Linked DNA regions of Homo sapiens: all the other regions are linked to region 3. Evidence: promoter capture Hi-C in 16 types of primary human blood cells and fetal thymus (Javierre and others, 2016). All regions are on one chromosome and are shown on one strand. The core of a region is centred on a gene start or on the middle of the fragment in contact, and the rest is flanking DNA. Distances in the headings are between cores, read along the strand shown. Region 1 has its middle 5.2 kb from the start of KRT4. Region 2 has its middle 9.8 kb from the start of KRT8. Region 3 holds the start of KRT75 (keratin 75). Region 4 holds the start of KRT3 (keratin 3). Region 5 holds the start of MIR9898 (microRNA 9898). Region 6 holds the start of KRT76 (keratin 76). Region 7 has its middle 6.2 kb from the start of KRT77.

Evidence for each region. The method cuts DNA at HindIII sites, captures the fragments that hold promoters and counts their contacts. A CHiCAGO score of 5 or more calls a contact.
Region 1: a contact is called between a fragment that was not itself captured here and the fragment with the promoter of KRT75 in region 3, in 2 of 17 cell types (endothelial precursors and naive B cells). The highest score is 6.8, in endothelial precursors.
Region 2: a contact is called between a fragment that was not itself captured here and the fragment with the promoter of KRT75 in region 3, in 5 of 17 cell types (M2 macrophages, M0 macrophages, erythroblasts and 2 more). The highest score is 6.7, in M2 macrophages.
Region 4: a contact is called between the fragment with the promoter of KRT3 here and the fragment with the promoter of KRT75 in region 3, in 2 of 17 cell types (endothelial precursors and total CD8 T cells). The highest score is 5.5, in endothelial precursors.
Region 5: a fragment that was not itself captured here is called in contact with the fragment with the promoter of KRT75 in region 3 in 4 of 17 cell types (M0 macrophages, erythroblasts, M2 macrophages and 1 more); the score reaches 7.8 in M0 macrophages.
Region 6: a fragment that was not itself captured here is called in contact with the fragment with the promoter of KRT75 in region 3 in 1 of 17 cell types (endothelial precursors); the score reaches 7.5 in endothelial precursors.
Region 7: a fragment that was not itself captured here is called in contact with the fragment with the promoter of KRT75 in region 3 in 1 of 17 cell types (endothelial precursors); the score reaches 5.3 in endothelial precursors.

The regions. Positions count from the first base shown.
Region 1 is chr12:52,817,684-52,821,012 of GRCh38, reverse strand. No RefSeq gene overlaps it. Among named protein-coding and RNA genes, the nearest start is that of KRT4, 5.2 kb to the right of the region's middle. RefSeq lists an enhancer at 2,293-2,794. The HindIII fragment of the contact is 1,770 bases long and covers 750-2,519 here.
Region 2 is chr12:52,913,443-52,916,389 of GRCh38, reverse strand. It overlaps a transcript of KRT8 not described here. Among named protein-coding and RNA genes, the nearest start is that of KRT8, 9.8 kb to the right of the region's middle. The HindIII fragment of the contact is 8,808 bases long and covers 1-2,947 here.
Region 3 is chr12:52,432,789-52,435,956 of GRCh38, reverse strand. KRT75 (keratin 75) reads left to right here and starts at 1,586. Exons shown (of 9, transcript NM_004693.3): 1 at 1,586-2,150; 2 at 2,705-2,919. The coding sequence starts at 1,653. The HindIII fragment of the contact is 2,406 bases long and covers 1,046-3,168 here.
Region 4 is chr12:52,794,069-52,797,449 of GRCh38, reverse strand. It overlaps KRT3 (keratin 3), which reads left to right and starts at 1,333. Exons shown (of 9, transcript NM_057088.3): 1 at 1,333-2,052; 2 at 3,119-3,339. The coding sequence starts at 1,408. The HindIII fragment of the contact is 1,337 bases long and covers 727-2,063 here.
Region 5 is chr12:52,896,567-52,899,795 of GRCh38, reverse strand. It overlaps KRT8 (keratin 8), which reads left to right. Exons shown (of 8, transcript NM_002273.4): 5 at 1-21; 6 at 897-1,117; 7 at 1,277-1,335; 8 at 2,178-2,605. The coding sequence ends at 2,368. MIR9898 (microRNA 9898) reads left to right here and starts at 812; the gene lies at 812-907. RefSeq lists an enhancer at 382-881. The HindIII fragment of the contact is 5,560 bases long and covers 1-3,229 here.
Region 6 is chr12:52,773,970-52,777,348 of GRCh38, reverse strand. KRT76 (keratin 76) reads left to right here and starts at 4. Exons shown (of 9, transcript NM_015848.4): 1 at 4-657; 2 at 1,747-1,961. The coding sequence starts at 58. The HindIII fragment of the contact is 1,487 bases long and covers 1,315-2,801 here.
Region 7 is chr12:52,708,210-52,711,154 of GRCh38, reverse strand. No RefSeq gene overlaps it. Among named protein-coding and RNA genes, the nearest start is that of KRT77, 6.2 kb to the right of the region's middle. The HindIII fragment of the contact is 2,732 bases long and covers 1-2,653 here.

The DNA of each region.
Region 1 (3,329 bases), core at 385-2,884, 390 kb before region 3:
TGTAAAAGTGGGTTGTGATAAGAACATGTGTAAAGCATCTGGCTTATAGAGGCCCTTTCAGGAATCAGGTTTCTTTGCTTTCCCACTCCCTGACTTCTGGATTCCCAGCTTATCCTCTTGGCCTCAGTGATGTCTCTCTCAGCCCCCACATCCAGTCGGCAAGAAAAATCCACACTTAATTGGGTTTTGTGGTTTACACATACATTACTTTGCCTGTGACCATCACCACAGCCCTAGGTTCAGTAGTGGGCATGTGGTGTTCCAGTTTACAGGTGAGGCGATTCACGCTCACAGAAGTGACCTCTCATGCTGTAGTCATCCAGCTGGCTGGAGGTGGGTCAGTAGTGTCCAGGGCTGCAATTTCAAGCCCTCTGTCCTGTCACCCCAGAAGCTACCTCCGTCCTACTCCTGCCTCCATCACTCGCCAAATCTTACTGCTCCTCCCTCCATGCGTCTCTTGGTATCACCTTCTTTCCTCTTCATCTCCACAGTTCTCTACTTTGAGTCTGGACCCCACTCCTCAAGCTGTACCCAAGTGATTCCCCAATTGGCTGGCCTCTCAACCCTGCACCTCTCAGGCCCTCCCCACCCTGCTACCAAACCAGTTGGCCCGACCCGAGGCTGTCACCACTCCGCTCCCTTCCTTGGCAACCTTAGGGCTCCTGGCAGTTGCTGGGATGCATCCCACACTCTTCCGGCCTGATCACTCTGTCCTCCTCAGAGGAGCCCCGAAGAGCCCTGAGAAAGCTTCCTCCAGGGCTGTGGAAGGCCAGCAGAGGGATTTTCAGCCAAACCCTAACCTCCAGCTTAGGAACACAAAGGCCTAGCGGTTTAGGGTCAGCTCTGCCTCACCAGCTTGGGTGGTCTCTAGCTTCCCTTCTCAGACAGATGGAGTATAGTCCACCCCATGTACAACACTTTGAGGAATACTTGCTAATGCTCACTGAGTGCCAACTGTGTGCCAGAACTGCTGTCAAGCCTTTAACTGATTCTCTTCACAACAGCCTATAATATAAATACTATTATCATTCTAATTTTGCCTATAAGGAAAATAAGGCACAGAGTGGTTAAGTAACTTGCCTAAGGTCACACAGCTAGGAAGTAGCAGAGCTAGGTGTGGAATCCAAGCAATCTGGTTCCATAGCCCAAGCTCTTAAGCACCAGGTTATTTTGCTTATATAGAAAAAGGAATGGAGACCTGGGGATGCTGGAGCTAGAAGGGGCATTGGATGTAATCGACTCCAAACTTTTTATTTCATAGATAAGAAAACAGGTTGAGGAAGGGGAAGAATGTATCCAAAGCCACGGTAACTTAGTGGCAGTGTTAAAAAAAAAATCAGTTTTAGTGAGATCATAGGCCAGGTGTTGTGGCTCCTGCCTGTAATTCCAGCACTTTGGGAGGCTGAGGCAGGTGGATCACTTGAGCCCAGGAGTTCAAGACAAGCCTGGCAACATGGTGAGACTCTGCCTCTACAAAAAAATACAAAAATTAGCTGGGTTTGATAATGCATACCTGTAGTCCCAGCTACTTGGGAGGCTGAGGTGGGAGGATCACTTGAGGCTGTTGAGGCTGCGGTGAGCTGTGATTGCACCATTGCACTCCAGCCTGGGTGACAGAGGGAGACCCTGTCTCAAAAAAATTATATTTAGGGCTCAAAAACTGAACAATAGAAACTTTTGATTGTCATGGAAAAAAGCCTCAGAGATTATACTGCAGCCCAGGGGGGCCCACCAACAATAATGCGCTGCTTAGACATACTTGTCGAAGGAGGGGAATGGCCCAGACCCAGGGGTTTCCAAACTGAGGACCCTAAGGGCTGCTTTCAGGGGTGCAGGGGGAGGTCAGCAGGTGAGAAGGATCATGGTCCCTCCTCTGCACCAACTGGATCATCTCTCCTTATCTGTTTTACTCATGAGGCTGTGCACGTGATTTTGTTTATGAGGGTGCTTTTGCTGCCAGAACATGCTGGGAAGCCCCTGCCTGTATATGCCTGGGGTAGGAGGCCAGCAGGGGCAGCTCTCCGGCCCGGGGAAAGAGGAGCCCCTGGGTACAGACCCCCATACCTGGCTCTCAGGAGTGCCCGTCCTCTCATTGCCCTCACTGGCCTCTCCCTAAAACGCTGATGGCCCTTTTCTGCAGAATCTCTGATCCCCGTGTTGTCTCTGGTTCCCCAAGAATGACTCAGGCCCGGTGGGGCAGTTGAGGTTGGGTGACCGAATGGAGTGAGGGTGCCCGCCTGGCCAGGGAGGGCAGGAGCACTTTCCCACACCACACAGTGGGTTTGGAGATGAGAGTGACAGAAGCCCTCAGGATCCCTTAATCCCAGGGCTGAATGTAAGGGCTTGCCTCCCTTACCCAGAAAGCCCTGAGCAAACACTCCCTCCGCCTGGCTCCACACCCCTGTCGGCTGCTCATCCCTCTGTGAAAAGATTGGGAACAGCTGCCAAACAAGGAAGGGTCACCGAGGGCAGTAGCAGAATCTGCGTGTGGAGGTCTGGGGAGGGGCAGGGGACAAGCTTCCAGCTGTGGCTGCTGGGTAGTGGCGCCTTGTTCAGCCACCTGCCTCTGGCCCACATATGAAGGCAATGTCTTTCCCCGTTTTCAGGGAAAGAAACTCATCTCTCTTTCTCTCTCACTCTAGGGTGTAAAGGCGCTCTTGCATAGGAAGTTCTTCCTTAGGTCTACCTTCGGTTTCTCAGGCTCAGTTTGAAGATTTTGTGAGCTTCTTGCAATTCTGATTTAATAATAAGGACACAGAATGTGGCTCTAGACTAGAACTTTCTTCTTGTTTGGATTGGGTTTATGGTAGGGTTTGTCATGAAATTAATTTGGATTTAGTTAATTGGAGGATACAAAACTGGCCCCTCAGGACAGTGTCATACCTTATTGGGTACTTGTAAGGACAGGGCCACATCAACCAAGCAACTGACCATGTGCTGAGGGTAAGGACAAAAAGGAGCGGAGCTGCATCTGCAGAGCTTGCAGCCTGCTGGCCAGACCCCATGGCTGTCTTGGTGGACCATGAGGTACAGGGCTGTATAAGTTGCTGTGTATTTTTTTCCCTGCATATTCTGTGTGGGCCAGTCACTCATATAAAACATTATACCTACCGTTTTATACATTGTAAGGTCACAAGCTTTGAAGTCAGACAGATAGTACTGACTTCCTATCTCTACCACTTCCTGGCTGTGTGATCTCAGGCAAGTTACATACCCCTCTGAGCCTCAATATCTGCAGCTCCAAACTGGACATAGCAAAGCACCTCTTTGACTGGGTTGTTGGAAGAAGCACCTAGTGTTCAGCATATAACAGTAGTTCCAAGAGAGAA
Region 2 (2,947 bases), core at 448-2,947, 480 kb before region 3:
TGGACTCACGCCCATGCAGTCAACTGCCACCTCCTGTTGGTTCTAGCTTGAGTCCATCCCTATCTTCCTGCTCCTACCACACTGCAGGCCTCCAGACCTGCTTTCTGCAGTAGCCCCCTTTCTAGTCTCCTGCCCCTAGTTTTTGCCCCTACCATCTATCCTGAACACCCCAGCCAGCTTAATTTTCCTAAAGCACTGCTTTAAGCTCATCATCCTGCTCCTCCCTTCCTGCAGCCTGCAGAAAAAGCTCTGTCTGGCCTCTGAAACCCCTAGTCCCACCCTCCTCCCCAATATCTAGCTTTTCTACTCTTCCATAGGAATCCCGCTCCTGTCCAGTGGCTTATCACATTTCCAGATCTTTCCATCCATATCTTACTTTCCTAAGCTCAGCTTGATCTAAGGGCTCTCTCCTTCCCCTGAAGTCCTATAGCATACATCTGAATCATTTATTTATCTGAAATCAATATTCCGTTGATAAGGTACAGAAGGTAGACTTTGGCCAGGTAGTATTTGTATTTATAGAAGGGCTCGGTGTGTACACGGATATCTTTATACCTGGCTTCTCTGGTTCCACGTCTTTATTGGTGTACATTTTGGTTAGCATATGTAGTGAACATCTGTTGTTTCTGCCTGTCCAGCATTTGTTTATCTTTTCTTTTCTCTTCTTTTTTTTTTGAGACGGAGTCTTGCTCTGTTACCCAGGCTGGGCTGGAGTTCAGTGGTGGGATCTTGGCTCACTGCAGCCTCTGCCTCCTGGGTTCAAGCGATTCTCCTGTCTCAGCCTCCCAAGTAGCTGGGACTACAGGCATGCACCACCATGCTCGGCTGATTTTTTTGTATTTTTAGTACAGATGGGGTTTCACCATGTTGACCAGGCTGGTCTCGACCTCCTGACCTCAGGTGATCCACCCGCCTCAGCCTCCTGAAGTGCTAGGATTACAGGCGTGAGGCATGGTTCCTGGCCCTGTCCAGCATTTCTTCCTGGTCTTTTGGTGAATCACATTTTTTTTTTTTTTGAGATGGAGTCTTGCTCTGTTGCCCAAGCTGGAGTGCAGTGGCGAGATCTCGGCTCACTGCAGGCTCCGTCCCCTGGGGTTCACGCCATTCTCCTGCCTCAGCCTCCTGAGTAGCTGGGACTACAGGTGCCCGCCACCTCGCCCGGCTAATTTTTTGTATCTTTAGTAGAGACGGGGTTTCACTGTGTTAGCCAGGATGGTCTCGATCTCCTGACCTCATGATCCGCCCACCTCTGCCTCCCAAAGAGCTGGGATTACAGGCGTGAGCCACCGCGCCTGGCCCAAATCACATTTTTTTTCCCCTTTCTCTATAGGTTGGGTGGGGCTGATCACCCCTCCACAGGGTCTTGTTATGTGGTCTAGTCTAGTCAACATGATAGTATTCTATTCCCCTGGCCACAGGGATTGGTTCAGAGATGAGCATGTGACCTATATCAGCCTTGGAGAGTCAGCCCTGGAACTTCAGCAGGAAGCATCGGGAAAGAGGTGCTCCCTTAGTGGTCGCCCTTCCTGCAGCAGGGAGATGGCCTGCCCGAGGACGAAGCTAACATGGAGGAAAATAGCCAAAAGACAGGAAGAGAGTCTTGGTCCTGATGATATCACTGAGCCCCTTATCTGGCTAGGCTGAAAGCCAAATGCACCCTTGAACTTCTCAATTATAAGAAATGATCTTTTTATGCTTAAGTCTGTTTGAGTTGGGTTTCAGCCACTTGCAATCAAGAATGTGTATCCTTTGGCTGGGAGCTGGGGCTCACACCTGTAACTTTGGGAGTCACAGCACTTTGGGAGGCCAAGGTGGGAGGATTGCTTGAGGCAAGGATTTTTTGTTTGTTTTTGAGACGGAGTTTCACTGTTGTTGCCCAGGCTGGAGTGCAATGGTATGATCACAGCTCGCTGCAACCTCCACCTCCTGGCTTCGAGCAATTCTCCTGCCTCAGCCTCCTGAGTAGCTGGGGTTACAGGCATGCGCCACCATACTATGCTAATTTTTTGGTATTTTTAGTAAGGACAGTTTCTCCATGTTGGTCAGGCTGGTCTCGAACTCCCAACCTCAGGTGATCCGCCTGCCTCGGCCTCCCAAAGTGCTGGGATTACAGGCGTGAGCCACTGCACCCGGTGGATTTTTTTTTTGTTTTGTTTGTTTTATTTTTGAGACAGAGTCTCGCTCTGTCGCCCAGGCTGGAGTGCAATAGGGCAGTCTTGGCTCACTGCAATCTTTGCCTCCTGGGTTCAAGCGATTCTCCTGCCTCAGCCTCCCGAGTAGCTGGGATTACAGGTGCCTGCCACCATGCCCAGCTAATTTTTATATTATTAGTAGAGACGGGATTTCACCATGTTGGTCAGGCTGGTCTTGATCTCCTGACTTCAGGTAATCAGCTGGCCTTGGCCTCCTAAAGTGCTAGTATTAGAGAGGCATGAGCCACCTCTCTCAGCCTGAGGCCAGGATTTTGAGACCAGCCTGGGCAATATAGTGAAACCTCTGTCTGTATAAAAGAAAAAACAAACAAACCTGTAACCGTGTATTTGAGTTTGGATGTGTGTTATATATGGCTGTGTGTGCACAGGTATGTGTGTGACGTTCGTAGGAAGGTGGTGTGCACGGGACTCTGACGGGTGGTACACGCACATGCTTGTGCCTGAGATGAGGATGTGAGGTGGTACTGCACCTTGGCGTGTGCGTCAGGCCATGCAAGTGAGAGGGCAGGTGGGGTGTGTGTGAACCTGAGAGAGTGTGTGAGGGACAAGAGGGCGTGTGTGCTATAGGCTGAGGTTGTGTGCCCACAGGGTGGGGGGTGGGCCTGTGAGGCTGTTTGTTCTGGGAGATAACCCATCAAACATGTGTGCTTTGTATTTATATGGATACATGCATATAAAGACACGTGCTCAAAAACACCTGCTTATCATCATGCACCTCTGCCCTCCTGAAAATT
Region 3 (3,168 bases), core at 337-2,836:
TGGGAGGCCAAAGAGGATGGATGACTTGAGCTCAAGAGTTCAAGACTAGCCTGAGCAAAATGTCGACACCCAGTTTTTACAAAATAGTAAAAAAATTAGAGAGGCATGGTGGAGCATGCCTGTAGTCCCAGCTACTCAGGAAGCTGAGGTGGGATGATCACCTGAGCCCAGGAGGTGGCGGTTGCAGTGAGCCGAGATTGAGCTGCTGCACTCCAGCCTGGGTGACAGAGTGAGACCCTGTCTCAAGGCAGAAAAAAAAAGAAGATTCAGCAATGTTTTGGTTTGACTCTTCCCATGGTAGAGATGGGGCAATGAGTTGCAGAACAGAGAGATGAGGTGCCTTGAAGTCTTCTTTGCGGTTTGTAGACTAATATAGAATGTAGGGCACAGTCTACAAGGTTAACAGGAGAAACAGGGAAGGAACGAATCCTCTGCTAGGTGCAGCTGTTGGAGCTCTTTTGATGAAGGACTGGAGAGCTAGGAATTCTTGGTCCTCAGGAGGAGGAGGAAACTGCCTGGGAGACTTCTGGGATAGGCAGCCTCAAATGCAGCTTGGAGGTGATGATTCATGGTACACCATCTTGTACAGTTTTATCTTCCCAACAGGACCATGAGCTTGTTGAAGATAAATAATGTGCATTGTGTTTCTTTTGAATTCCCACAGGACTAGTCACAGGATGGACATGGTTGGCACTTCCTTAATATTACTTGATTGTATCAGAAAGAGGGGAGCCTCAATAGACATTTACTCAGCACTTACATATACCGGGCATTGCGAAAGTTTTCACATGTGAATATTCATTACAAACCCCATTTTACAGACATGAAAGTTGAGGCACAGAAAAGTTTCATGGCTTGCTCAAGGTCCCACAACTATGAGCAGGTCTGAGATTCAAACCCGAGTCTTTCTCCTCTCACAACCTCTCTTCCCAGGAGACAGAGCACTGGCTGGCCTTGAGAGTCACATTATATTGCAGTGGGCAGGGCACAGGCACACATACACTCCAGAAAACCATGTGTGACCTACACAATAGACACGGAAGCTTAAGAGCAGAATAAAGGGGCAATCAAAATGGGGTGGATTCCTAAGGAAGATGATTACAGAGCGCGACCTTCAAGGTTTGGAAAGACAGCTTGATGGGGCTTGGGGAACCAGGCAGTAGGTGCTGAGAAAATGCTTAGGGAATAGGAAGCACCCCAAGGAAACAGTGAAGTGTAGTGGCTTGTATTAACACAAGATGTTTGGACAGGACGGAGTTGGTCCCAGGCCTAAGAAAGCGGTTTAGAAATGAGGCAGTGTTTGCTGAGTCCTTTACAAGATGCATCATTAGCACATGACGGAAAGCAATTAACTTGCTTCTTACTCATATGCTGATCAAGTTGCAACTGGAAAGGAGTTTGCACGTTGTGGGGAGGGGGTGCCAGGGAACCAGCCAGTGGCCCTTACACCATTTCCCGAGGGATGCCGAGTGTGAGCTCAGGGTTGGCGGATGCCCAGGGAATGCCATCAGAAGGCCCTCTCCACTAGCAGTGCCCCGCCCCCACAGGATGCTCATAAAAGCCACGAGACCAGGGCTCTCCAGCCACCTGTCTTCTCCACTGCCTGTACCAGCCCACCTCAGGTGCCTTCTCGCCGGCCTTCCTCACCCACCATGTCTCGGCAGTCCTCCATCACCTTCCAGTCTGGCAGCCGCAGGGGCTTCAGCACCACCTCGGCCATCACCCCGGCAGCTGGCCGCTCCCGCTTCAGCTCTGTCTCTGTGGCCCGCTCTGCAGCAGGGAGTGGGGGCCTGGGAAGGATCAGCAGTGCTGGGGCCAGCTTTGGAAGCCGCAGCCTCTACAACCTGGGGGGTGCCAAGCGGGTCTCCATCAATGGGTGTGGCAGCAGCTGCCGAAGTGGCTTTGGTGGCAGGGCCAGCAACAGGTTTGGAGTCAACAGTGGATTTGGCTATGGGGGTGGAGTTGGAGGAGGCTTCAGTGGCCCCAGCTTCCCCGTGTGTCCCCCTGGAGGCATCCAAGAGGTCACTGTCAACCAGAGTCTCCTGACTCCTCTTCACCTGCAAATCGACCCCACCATCCAGCGGGTGCGGGCCGAGGAGCGCGAGCAGATCAAGACCCTCAACAATAAGTTCGCCTCCTTCATCGACAAGGTAAGCAGGGGCTTCATCCACCCCCTTGGGTTTGGGATCAAATAAACTCTTGGAAGGGCCATCCCATGGGGGGAGAGCAATAATGCAATGACCCCACTGTGGGAATGAGCACTGTTCAGCACGGGCTCCCAGGGGCTGAGACCCTTCCAAGTCAGGCCAGCTTGCCCCACAGGACCTGGTAGAAATTTCCTCTCTTTCGGAGCCACATGGGCTGGTTCAGTCAACACCAAGGGAAGAGTTTTGTTGATTCTCTACAGGAGAGTTGCTGCTCAGCAAACTACCCTAACCCAGAGTAGGTGGTGTTGAGAAACTTAACCCAAGAGCAGCTCCCCAACAGAAGCCTCTAGGCCCCACCACCCGAATCCTATGCAAGCCCTAGGGAACTTTGCGGTAGCTCCATGGACTGCCTCCTTTTGGGTTGGAGTTGTCAGTTACATTATTGTCAATGGGTGCCAAGTGAAAAAAATATCTTTTTCTTCTCTCCCTTATTAATAGGAGTGTCTAACTCTGCCTCTCCAACTTCTCAAGGTTTCATTCTCTCTTCTTCCCTCCAGGTGAGGTTCTTGGAGCAGCAGAACAAGGTCCTGGAGACCAAGTGGGCCCTCCTGCAGGAGCAGGGCTCCAGGACTGTGAGGCAGAACCTAGAGCCCCTCTTTGATTCCTATACCAGTGAGCTCCGACGGCAGCTGGAAAGCATCACCACCGAGAGGGGCAGGCTTGAAGCTGAACTGAGGAACATGCAGGATGTTGTGGAAGATTTCAAAGTCAGGTAAGTGGGAGACTGGCTTCTGGCCACACACAGCCATCTGAAGGCTCCTTTGTGTGAGGACCAGAGAGGTGCAAAGGAGCAAATGCCGATATCAGCCGGGAGCTTTGGAACTGCAGCCTTTATCCTGCAAGGTGGAGACAGCACTGTGTGGGGTAGCACAAGGACCTTCATCTTGTGTATTGCTATGAAGATCCTATTCCTATTTGTTCACATGACTGCAAAGGGATATCAACATCATCCGACAAAATA
Region 4 (3,381 bases), core at 84-2,583, 360 kb before region 3:
GCCCTACCCAGTGGGTGTTGAAGAAGTCTCTATCCTTTCCCCCAATTCTAAGGAGGCTCCTGCCAGGGCCATACAGACCACACCCTTAGAAGGGCCCAATGTGCAGCAGACAGAACAAAAAAGGCCTGTCCTGGAGAGATAAGCAGCTAACTTGGCCAGCTCCAGAGTGTGCAGGATGGCTTTCTTTTGGACAAACCAAGCCCAGTCATAAGCCTCTGAACAACCCCAGACAGGGAGAGTTTCAGGCTTTCGGAGTCAGACATATTCCATAGTGCTGCCGGCTCTGCCAGATCTGGCTTTCTGGGGTTTGTGAGGGGGCATGGGCGACTCTCAGGAGCACATCTCTCAAACAGAAAATGGTCCCACAGGGGCCCTGTGTGTCTTGTCCATGACTGGGTCTCCAGAGTTTTGCAAAGGGCCTGGCACACATTTGGCAGTCTGTAAATATTTGCTGAATTTGTTGTTGACTTGACATTTGAATTTCTTGTTCCCTAGGCCTTAAGCTAAAACCAGAGAAAGGCCAAAATGTGGGGAGCAAGAAAGGAAGCCATAGATAAACCCCAAGATGTGTAATAGTGTATAATTTCTCTGGGAAGTTTTAAAGAGAAACAAACATTAGGCATGTTGGATTTTGCCAGTGTCTGCTCAACATACATAGGTGTTAACTTGACTTTTTCTCCAAAGATAGTCATAAACCAAAAGGTCACTACCTCCTGAACTAAAGCTTGGGGTACAGGGAGAACCCAGGAGGCAGATTTGTGATAGTTCTGGGCTTTTTTCCAAGAAGGGAGAAGGAGAGGTCAGCGCTTCATCCCAAAGGCCAGCGTAGAGCTGGGCACATACTGTGCACTCAGTCATTGTGGAGAGACCTGCATCACTCCTTCCATTAAGATACTTTCCCAGAGCTGTGAGTGGGCTCCACTGTCTCCACTACTCAGAGAAGCAGAACCTCCCCACACCTCCTCCACTCTATCCTCTCCAGAGCTGGGCACCGCTCTGCAGGGCCCAGGTGCAGCTAATAGGCAGAGGGATGGCTGCTGAGCACCTGATGCAGGTGAGCGTGCCTCCTGGGTCCTGTCAGACAGAGCTAGGAGGAGGCCATGCCCAAACATGGGGCAACACCAGGCACCACCCCCTCACCAGGTAAGCCTGCCACCTTAGCACTTTTACCATTTCAGCTTATTTTCAAGGTGTGTTTGGTAGCCTGGAACAAACTTATTGCCTTGGAGGCAAACCCAGCCCATGAATATTTGGGATTAATTATCTCTCCTTCGTTTGAGCCCAACAACCTCCTCAAATGTATATAAAGGGATTTATTTTGCACAGGTCTTCATTTCCCATCCCTCTTCCTCTGACTCTCAGTGTCCCTGCTTAACTTACACTCTTCTCTTCGCCAAGCTCCTTACCATGAGCAGACAAGCCAGCAAGACATCTGGTGGCGGGAGCCAGGGTTTCTCCGGCCGCTCTGCTGTGGTCTCCGGCAGCAGCAGGATGAGCTGTGTGGCCCACTCTGGGGGAGCTGGCGGAGGGGCCTATGGCTTCCGGAGCGGAGCAGGTGGCTTTGGCAGTCGCAGCCTCTACAACCTGGGCGGCAACAAGAGCATCTCCATCAGCGTGGCAGCTGGCGGCTCCCGGGCTGGAGGCTTTGGGGGAGGGCGGAGCAGCTGTGCCTTTGCAGGTGGCTATGGAGGTGGCTTTGGGAGCGGCTATGGAGGTGGCTTTGGTGGTGGCTTTGGTGGTGGCAGAGGAATGGGAGGTGGCTTTGGTGGAGCTGGTGGCTTTGGAGGGGCTGGTGGCTTTGGAGGGGCTGGTGGCTTTGGTGGTCCTGGTGGCTTTGGTGGGTCTGGTGGCTTTGGTGGGCCTGGCAGCTTGGGCAGTCCTGGTGGCTTTGGCCCTGGGGGCTTTCCTGGGGGAATTCAGGAAGTGACTATCAACCAGAGTCTCCTGCAGCCCCTCAATGTGGAGATCGACCCCCAGATTGGGCAAGTAAAGGCCCAGGAGCGGGAACAGATCAAGACCCTCAACAACAAGTTTGCCTCCTTCATTGACAAGGTAATGAAGCTTTGACTGGTCATCCCTTCCTGGGCTGGGGACTTTGAATTTGACCTTTGGGACACAGTGTTTAAATGTTTCTTGGATAGGCCAGACTGGAGGGTGAGGAGTTAGGTGGAACTCTAGGGTCTGGGAAGATATCCAGGGTTGAGGAGTTTGTCTACATGGTCAAGTGAGGGGAGGTGTAGAAAGAAAACAGTCCCCTATTTGGACCTGAGCACCACACATCCTGTTTGTGGGAACCCCTGCTGAAGTTTCCAGTCATTGCCTCATTGAGGCCCAGGCTGGCAGGGCAGGCAGCCCAAGGCAAGGGCCACAGCCACCATCAGCGAAGGGTCCACCAAGAATGGGAGGCTTTTCAAATACAAGCTGCCCTCTGAGGCTTTCCAGGAAGCCCTTTCCCCCTCATATTGCTGTGCCAGGCAGAGGAGGCTGATTACCTGGAGCAGGGATTAAGAGCATAAGAACCTTAGTTAGTCCCAAGGGAGCGCAGAGAAATGAGTGACTTTGCACTCCTACTCAGCCTAGTCAGGAAGACAAGAGTGCTCGGTGAGCTTCTCCAGACCAGGACAGTTCTCATGGGGCTGCCTCCCCTCCAGGCCCAAGAGAGGTGTTGTCATGCTAACTGTGGCATGCCAGCCAGTGTTGCTTCCCAGCTTCCCAGCATCACTTCACTGTTTTTGAAGAGCTAGCATGTCAGTAGAGTCGTGGGTGGAAATGGTGCTGCTGAGGTTTATGTGCATTTTTGTAGAGTGTACTGTGGTTTTGGAAGTTAAGATAGGGTCATGAAGTTCCCAGGAACAACAAGCAATAATTCTATTGCTTTCAGGTAGGAGCTACTTCCCCTTCCTTTGTAACTTTCCAAACCACGCTGCAAGTGTAGTGTCCTGACTCATCACCCATCTGATCATAATCTCTCTGACTACAGTAGGAGCCTATCTTTGCATCTTTTCTAGGCCTTTGTGCTGGGGGCCCAGGAGATAGACACCTAGTCCTACCTGAGTGAAGGCCCCTCTGCTCCTCTGCTACAAGTGTTGCCTGATGTTGCTTCCTGCAACCATTGCAGGTGCGGTTCCTGGAGCAACAGAACAAAGTCCTGGAGACCAAGTGGAACCTGCTCCAGCAGCAGGGCACAAGTTCCATCTCAGGCACAAACAACCTTGAGCCTCTTTTTGAGAATCACATCAACTACCTGCGGAGCTACCTGGACAACATCCTCGGGGAGAGAGGGCGCCTGGACTCTGAGCTGAAGAACATGGAGGACCTGGTGGAAGACTTCAAGAAGAAGTGAGTGACAGGGCAGGAGTGGGAAGATGCCATGGCCCACCC
Region 5 (3,229 bases), core at 658-3,157, 460 kb before region 3:
ATTGAGGGCCTCAAAGGCCAGGTATGGGCCGGGTTGGGGGTGGGAGGGGTTCCTTGGACACATCCTGGTGAGAGGAGATAATGTAGGAAGAGTGAAGTTTCTGGGAGTCGGGGAAGGAATCCTAGACCAGGGTTCAGGAGTTGGAGGGGCAGCCACAGTTCAGCTTCTCAGTCTGCTTCTGAGAAGCAAAGGGATGCAGGGAAGGTCCCTTGGGCCAGGACAGAGGTGAAAGGGGACTGGGGCAGGTATGTTGGGGCTCGTGATACATGCTCCCAAGCCTGCTTTAATCAGTCATATGCATCAGGGTAAGGTTGAGCTCTGCTGCTTTAAGGAAAGTCTAGAACCCAGGGATCTAGTCCAGTTAGGGTAGGGGGACCTTACAGTGTCGCAGGTGAGAAGGGTGTGGAGGGGAAGCACCTGGAAACTGCTCATGTCTCCCTGATCTGCTTCCTTAGTCTCGTTTATTTATTTATTTATTTTTGAGACAGAGTCTTGCTCTGTCGCCCAGGCTGGAGTGCAGTGGCGTGATCTCGGCTCACTGCAAGCTCCGCCTCCTGGGTTCACACTATTCTCCTGACTCAGCCTCCTGAGTAGCTGGGACTACAGGCGCCCGCCACCAGGCTGGCTAATTTTTTTTGTATTTTTACTAGAGACGGGGTTTCACTGTGTTAGCCAGGATGGCCTCGATCTCCTGACCTTGTGATCTGCCCGCCTCGGCCTCCCAAAGTGCTGGGATTACAGGCATGAGCCACTGTGCCCGGCCCTTAGTCTCATTTAATTTGAGCTGGGGGGAGTCAGCCTAGGTGGTGGTGGGGAGGACCCTGAGGGAGGGTGGGAGCACGGGAGAAGAGAAGGCATACCCAACCTGACCTACTTACCTGTCCCCTACCCCACAGAGGGCTTCCCTGGAGGCCGCCATTGCAGATGCCGAGCAGCGTGGAGAGCTGGCCATTAAGGATGCCAACGCCAAGTTGTCCGAGCTGGAGGCCGCCCTGCAGCGGGCCAAGCAGGACATGGCGCGGCAGCTGCGTGAGTACCAGGAGCTGATGAACGTCAAGCTGGCCCTGGACATCGAGATCGCCACCTACAGGAAGCTGCTGGAGGGCGAGGAGAGCCGGTGGGTGTGGGTACCTCTGACCGGACCTGCTTCCCTATCCCTGGGACCTGGGGTGGGGACGGTGGGAGCCCCCTGAAGCCCCTTGGGACTTGGGGTCCTGTTGTTCTGGGCCAAGAAGGGCTAGGAGTTGGTCCTGACACCCCATTTGTCTGGGTACAGGCTGGAGTCTGGGATGCAGAACATGAGTATTCATACGAAGACCACCAGCGGCTATGCAGGTGGGTGTCCCAGGGCCCTGGGATGAGGGCGGGAGGCAGGGCCCAGGGAGGCCTCAGCTCCAGGGAGGGGGCTGTGCTCAGTCGCTCACAGTGACCTCAGCCTGAGCACTCATGTTCTTGGGAGAATCCTAGGGTGGGGAGGCACATATTCAGGACCCCAGTAATAACTTTATTACTTAGTAACTTTACTATTAGAAAGCACCCAAATAAACCATAGCTGTGTGCCAGGCACTGTGCTAAGTATCCTACAGGTTTTATGTGATTTATTTTATTTATTAATTTAATTTAATTTTTTTGAGACGAAGTCTCGCTCTGTCACCCAAGCTGGAGTGCAGTGGCGTGATCTCAGCTCACTGTAACCTCCACCTCCTGGGTTCAAGAGATTCTCCTGCCTCAGGCCTCCCAAGTAGCTGGGACTACAGGCGCATACCACCATGCCCAGCTAATTTTTGTATTTTTAGTAGAGACGGGGTTTCACTGTGTTGGGCAGGCTGGTCTCGAACTCCTGACCTTGTGATCAGTGCTGGGATTACAGGCATGAGACACTGGGCCTGGCTGTAATTTATTTTTTATATGACACCTGTAAACGTCTTCAGTTGAGGAAGCTGAGGTGCAGCTAAATGTCCAAGGTCACACAGCTATATATATGGCAGCTGTTTTCCACCCTGCTCCTGGTTTTCCCTGACAGTTCTGGAGTAGTGAACCATGCAATCACTGATCAGGCAGAGCTGGGTTAACCTCCCATCCCTGGGGCTATGTTGGGAATGAGCAGGGAGAAGGGGCATGGAGCCTGCCATGGGGTGGGCTTCTGTACTCATGTGGCTACCTCTGTCCCTCACCAGGTGGTCTGAGCTCGGCCTATGGGGGCCTCACAAGCCCCGGCCTCAGCTACAGCCTGGGCTCCAGCTTTGGCTCTGGCGCGGGCTCCAGCTCCTTCAGCCGCACCAGCTCCTCCAGGGCCGTGGTTGTGAAGAAGATCGAGACACGTGATGGGAAGCTGGTGTCTGAGTCCTCTGACGTCCTGCCCAAGTGAACAGCTGCGGCAGCCCCTCCCAGCCTACCCCTCCTGCGCTGCCCCAGAGCCTGGGAAGGAGGCCGCTATGCAGGGTAGCACTGGGAACAGGAGACCCACCTGAGGCTCAGCCCTAGCCCTCAGCCCACCTGGGGAGTTTACTACCTGGGGACCCCCCTTGCCCATGCCTCCAGCTACAAAACAATTCAATTGCTTTTTTTTTTTGGTCCAAAATAAAACCTCAGCTAGCTCTGCCAATGTCCTTGCTTGTGTGTGCATCTGATGTCCACTGGGGTGGGAGGGAGGTGGTCAGGAGGCCTCTTCTTGGGACTGAGAAGCTGGGAGGGGTCCAGGAAGCAGGGGGTGCACAGCGGGAAAGTCTGACCCCCTCAGCTGTTCCTAAAGAGGCTCCTTTATTGAAACCTGGTTGAAACCTTGCTTGTTGCCATAGATATCTACACCTGTATAATAGTCATTGACCTGTGCACAGTGCTTTCTGGTTTACAGTGTGCTTTCAAATCCCAAGGTTCATGTGATCTGTGCAGCAAGGCTCAAGAGGCAGGCAGAGCAAGTTTTTGAGGGCATTATCAGCAGAGAGCTTAGTGTGCTTCCCCTACACCTTGGCATCAGGACTATCTGCATATAAGGAAAGCCAGGCTCAGAGAAGCCAAGTAGTTGGCTCATCTAGAAACTAGCAGATTTGGCATTGGAACCCAGAGCTGTCCAGCTCTCAGGCTTGTACTCCTCCTTGGCCAGGCACATGGCCTTTCCTTGTGGCCAGACATGTCTTTTTATCACCTTCAATCTTTGCAGTCAGGGACTAAGGCATCCTGGCTTTTCCATCCCCTCAGAGGTTCAGAGTCTATTCTCAGCCATTGGGTG
Region 6 (3,379 bases), core at 809-3,308, 340 kb before region 3:
CCTATCCCTCTCAGCTCTTGCTAAGTGATCACTAGCTTGCCTCCAAGCTCTCTCACTATGAACAGACAAGTTTGCAAGAAATCCTTCAGTGGCAGGAGCCAGGGTTTCTCTGGCCGCTCTGCTGTGGTCTCCGGCAGCAGCAGGATGAGCTGTGTGGCCCGCTCTGGGGGAGCTGGTGGAGGGGCCTGTGGCTTCAGGAGCGGAGCAGGCAGCTTTGGCAGTCGCAGCCTCTACAACCTGGGCAGCAACAAGAGCATCTCCATCAGCGTGGCAGCTGGCAGCTCCCGGGCTGGAGGCTTTGGGGGAGGGCGGAGCAGCTGTGGCTTTGCAGGTGGCTATGGAGGTGGCTTTGGGGGCAGCTATGGTGGTGGCTTTGGTGGTGGCAGAGGAGTAGGTAGTGGTTTTGGAGGGGCTGGTGGCTTTGGTGGAGCTGGTGGCTTTGGTGGTCCTGGTGTATTTGGTGGGCCTGGCAGCTTTGGTGGTCCTGGTGGCTTTGGCCCTGGGGGCTTTCCTGGGGGAATTCAGGAAGTGATTGTAAACCAGAGTCTCCTGCAGCCCCTCAATGTGGAGATCGACCCCCAGATTGGGCAAGTAAAGGCCCAGGAGCGGGAACAGATCAAGACCCTCAACAACAAGTTTGCCTCCTTCATCGACAAGGTGAGGGCAAGGCCAAGAGGTGCTGTGGAGGGTTTGGGGTGCCCAGGGGTCGGTGTAGAAAGATGCCATGGGGACTTGTGAGACACAGGGCAGGGGCGCTTGGCTCTTGTCCTGGTGCTGTCTTGGTCCCTACAGGACAGTGATCATGCCCCTTTCACTTTTTGGGCCTTCTTTTTCCAGCTGTGAAATGGGGGGAAGAATTCCTGGTCCTGGTTTCCTGCTAAGAATGAGATGAGGGTAAATGAAGTGGGGGTCCAAACATGCTCTTAGCTTTTTGAAGAATGAGCCATTTTAGTCATGAAATTATTGCAGTTACTTTAATTTCTCCTGAAAAGCAATTGCTTGATAATCCAAAGTAGCTGGTAATCAAAACCTTGTGTTAGCACAGATCTTGAGGCTGCATCTAAATGAGGTGCATTGGCAGCTGCCTTACCTTCCAGATGATGCTGTGCTTCAGCCAATAATTAAACTGAGCTGTCCATGCTGGGGCAGAGGAGGGTGTTCTGGGTCTGTGTGGGACTGAGCCCAGGATCTGAAGTGAATTCTAGTTCAGCTGCAAGCTGAATAACTGAAAGGAGGTCTTCCTATGTGAAACTTCTAAAGAAATGTTAGACCTCATTGACTGTATTCACTGCCTTTATGGAGCTGAAAAAAGCTTACATCTAAAAAACAATGACAAACTTTATTTGTGCTTACCTCCTTCAGTGGTATTCTGAAGGATCCCTATAGACCCAGGACAGTCCTGGGTTTGATTCTTAGCTTTGTCACTCAGTAGACTTGTCACTTTGGGAAACTTAAACTCTTTGAGTCTCAGTTTCCTTATCTACAAAATGGGGATCACAGCAACTCCTTTATAGGTGGTTGTGAGGATTAAATGTGACGGAAATACATGAAAATAACAGGTAAGGCATAATCACTCAACAAATTCTAGCTCTCCCTTTGCTAAATCTTCATCCTTCCCAAATTAAAAAACAGGGGAAATTGTAGATTGAAGAACTGGGTTCCTTCTCCACAGTTCTACATTTGGGATGGGCAGCCCCACATGCCCAACTCAAGGGGCTGACTCCTTTTCTCCCCTCTTTCATGCAGGTGCGGTTCCTGGAACAGCAGAACAAGGTCCTGGAGACCAAGTGGGAACTGCTCCAGCAGCAGACCACAGGCTCAGGGCCCAGCAGCCTGGAGCCTTGTTTTGAATCCTACATCAGCTTCCTATGCAAGCAGCTAGATTCACTTCTAGGGGAGAGGGGGAACCTGGAGGGAGAGCTGAAAAGCATGCAGGACCTGGTGGAAGACTTCAAAAAGAAGTGAGGGCTCCTCCTGGGAAGTTTCCCCTTCTGGGGAATTAGCAGGGAGGTGTGGTCCTAATTTGGGATTTCAACTGTTCCCAACTGTGCCTTCAGTCAATACTCTGGGATGGATTTATTGAGTGAAACATGACAAAGCAGAAGGGGGTGAAAGGGTGGGGACTGAGACTCCCATGTGGCTATGACACAGATTTCAGGCTCCAGATGGGCCCCCTCCTATTCCAGCCCAGAGGGACAAAAGAGTCCTCCCAGAGTTTAGAATCCTTTAGGATGGGGAGTCCGCCACACTTGACTGGACACAGGAATCACCTTGGATGCTTGTCAACAATGCGTATTCCTGTATTCCAGTCTTAGGTATTCTGAATCATAGGTGTGGACAGGCCCCAGGAGTGTGAGTGTTCCCCTAGCTCCTGGGGATTCTAGGCAGAGGTCCAGGGCTGCACTTGGTAAAGGCCTTTATCAGTGTGTCCCGTCCAATCTCCTGTTCTGCAGCTTTGGTTTGCCTCCTCCTCCACGTTCCAAGTTGCAGTCCATATCCGCTGAGGTCTGCAAGGAGCAAACTGGGCCTCTCAAGGTGGGAGGGAGCTCCCGACTTCCCCAGGGATCAGAACCCACAGGGACGGGCACACCTGCTCTGCAGAGGCCCTATTCCAATTCAACCACACAAACGTGGTGGGCACCCACTCTGTGGCAGGCTCTGTGCTGGGCTCTGGGAATTCAGTGGCAACTCAGATTCATATTCCCAAAAGAGATCCCAGAGACCTCTTTTCTCCTAGAGGAAAAAAAGAGGTCCTGCCTAGAGACCTCTTTTCTCCTAGAATCAGTCCAATTCCTCAAGCTTTATGAAATACAAACTCTTGGTAGTAGATTTTAGTCCTTAACAGGCAGGAATCCCACAACTTTGATGCATTCAGAAGGTATGAATTCTTTCTTAACTGAAATTCCTATAAGAAGTAACTGTAATGAAGGAAAACAGAAACTGAGGAAATAGGCAGAAATGCCCAATGAGAGCACACATTTCACTGGGTTCCATATGCACACATTGTGCTTTGCAAAGTCAATCAAAGAGCCTAGGCAAGTGGTCAGGCTCCTTGAAGTTTGCCCTCTCACTGACTGCCCATACCTCTGCCCATCACTGCATTTAGAGGGAAGAGGGCCAGGCAGTGCCCTGAGCTCTGAGAGGTCTCTGGACAGGACCAGCTACGTGATTTTCAGGCCTCAGTGCAAAATGATAATGCAGGAACCTAGTTACAAAATTATTAAGAATTTCAATCATGCCTGTAATCCCAGTACTTTGGGAGGCTGAGGAGGGAGAATCACTTGAGCCCAACAGTTCGAGACCAGCCTGGGCAACAAAGTGAGACCTTGTCTCTACTAAAAATTAAAAAATTGGCTGGACGTGGTGGTGCATGCCTCCA
Region 7 (2,945 bases), core at 38-2,537, 280 kb before region 3:
AGCTGGATGGAAAATGCAGTTTGGTTAATAGAAATTTACTTTTGTAATAATGTAATAATTGCTAAAGTAGATGATCTCTTGTTATTTGCCTGACATGTGCTGAGCTTTTTCTGAATTAACCCATCTAATCTTCACAGCCCTGTGAGGTAGGCAGTGTTATGGCCTCTGCTTCACAAAAGAGGAAATGAAAGCGCAGAGAGATGAATGAACTTATCCAAGGTCATGTAACTAGAAGGGATGGCACCAGGATTCAAACTCCAGAAGGCCTAACCTCAAAGCCCTCCTAAATTGCCCCATAAAGCAGAAGATAAGATAGTACAGCAAGAAACTCTCAGGCTTTGGAACCCAGCTGCTAGGTGTAATCTGGGCCCACTCCTTACCAGGAGTGTGTGACCTTGAGCCACCCTCCAGACCCCTCACCCAAAAGTCATCAGTAAAATGCAGTTGTGTGGATGGAATCATGTCATCTGTTTAATTCTTGGCACATTGTAAGAGCTCAATAAAAGGTCATTACTAATTATGGCCAGTGTTTCAGGAACCTGTCTATTCTTTAAATGAAGAGAATAATACACTGCAAATTCCTTATGGTTATAAAGCACTGTAATCTCTCCCATCATGGTCAAGTGAGACACGAACCTGGAATTGATGGCAGGTCTCATATTACCCTCAGGGACTTGGAATGCTGGTCCCACCCCACCACTAACTACCCCTGTAACCTTGAGACTGGCCCGTCCTCTTTGATCCAACATATAGAAGCATTCTCTGCCCAGACAGCACCATTCCTCCGCTGGGACCTCACTGTTTCTTTTGGAATTCAATCCAAGTCTAACCTGTAGCCTTATTTTCCTTTGGGGCCACACCTGCCTAGCTGCTCCCTTTGCTTCAGAGACAAAAGAGTTGCCAGGCTGAGGCACAAGAATCACTTGAACCCGGGAGGTGGAGGTTGCAGTGAGCATTTCAGCCTGGGTGAATTATAAACAAATAAATGGTTGTATAAATAAATAAATAAATGATTGTATAAATAGTCATGACTTCCAGTATGTTGGATGGAAGAGCTTTGACACGCTTGGCACAATATTGTCTCTGGACCTTTGCCGTGGGAATTTGCAAGCTGCCCTTAGTGAGGCCTCTAGACAATATCCAGGCCCAAAAGCACCTATTGGGTTTGCCGAGAAGGAAGGAGACTGCCCGATTCTTATGCTCTAGGCAGACACTGAGATTCTAGTTAAAGGGATGTCAAAGTGGTGTCCAGGCTAGTTTTGGGCCTCAGTAGGAGCTTAAGGCCCTAGGTGTTGCCCCAAACACACACCCCAACCCAGAAATCAGAGGATTCACCAGGGATGTTCCTGTGTGCCTGGCACCACCTTCTCATGCCTGCGTGCAGGCTTGTTAGAGATTGAAGGTGGAACGCCCCATATAGTCATCTCTCCCAGGCTGCAGGAGCACAGAGGCACCTGGGAATTTCACATAGGCCTCCTTATTCTTTCTGAATTCGGGGGAGGGTAGCCAAGTTCTCATTCTATCTGCACCACCAACTTTTTTGGGTAACTTTGGCCAAGTCCCTGTCTTTGTACCCATTTCTTCCTTGTAAAATGAAGGACTGGGCTGATACCGTCCATCATATGTTTGGCTGTGATGCTGTTACGCAGGAAGAAGAGTGGGCCAAGGGTGGGGAAGCCAAGTCTAGCAGCTTCTATTCAGCTCCAATAGGTTTCTCTCCGATATGTGTCACATCACTGCCTCCCCTGTGCTGACGACAGGTCAAAAGGCTCTCATTTCAAGGAGGTTAAAGGCCCCCATTCCTAGACCGGGGCTGCAGCTCTCCACTCTCTTCTTGGTGGGGACTGGTGAGTGAGAGTCTCTCTCCCTTCCTTTTTCCAGCCCCACGCCCCTGACACACCTCTGTGATATCCACCTCCAGACCCTGGGAAATGTAGGGTGAGGTGGGGGATAGAGCTTTGGGAGCTGCTCCTGCTGGTCATGCCAGCAGCTCTTCTGAACCCTGCTTCCCGCTGCTGTCTGGAACTGTGATCCAGGTGGCTGATAGTTGCTCTGGGCCTCACCTTCTTGGCAGCCCTGGGTTTCAGTAACTGGGAGATGGGCTGGGTGAGCTGCAGCCTTCAACTAACTTCCCACTTTCCTTTTAAGGTGGCAGGTGGGGAGAGGAGGAAGCGGGCACATCTCTCTCCAACGACCCCATCTCTTCTGCAATACATGTAGGTTCTGAAGTGGGAATGCGCGGGTTCAAATCTCCATTCCACTATTTTCATTAGTGTATTCTTTGACAAGATTCTCTTTCCAAGTCTCACTTTCTCCATTTGCAAAATGAACATAGTAAGAATATCTTCCTTATGATGTTGGTATTTAGATTTCACGAGACCTTCCATGTTATAGACAGCACAGTGCATGGTCCATGGAAATCACCTGGTGAAGTTCACTATTATGATAATGATTGTTACTCCTATCTGTGTCCTTAGACTGAATGGAATCTAAAGAGGCTGTTTCATTTGTCCTGTTTCCTCCAGGTCAGTGGTCTCCAAACTTGCTGCACATTAAAACCACCTTTTAAAAATTCTAAAGTCCAGACCATAGCCCCAGACCAATTAAACTCTACTCCTTAGGTGTGGGCCCAGGCACCAGCGATTTTGAAGCTTTCTAGGTGATTCCAGTGTGAGCCAGTTTAGAAACCGCTGCTCTCTGCAGTCTAACCAGCTGAGGAGTTTCTTTTAGGGGTAGTGATTCGTCCTAGGAACATTATTTACCCACTAATATTGATCTGAGTTGAAACACTTCCTTTGAGACAAGCAAAATCTCTCGTGCTTCACTTTAAGTCATTTTTTTTTCTTCTGAGGAAGTAGAGCATAGCTATCACCCTCCACCAAAAGCTCAGTTAGTGGGTGTGTCCCTCCTCCCCTCCCAAGCCCTTCAAGGGATGACAACAGCCC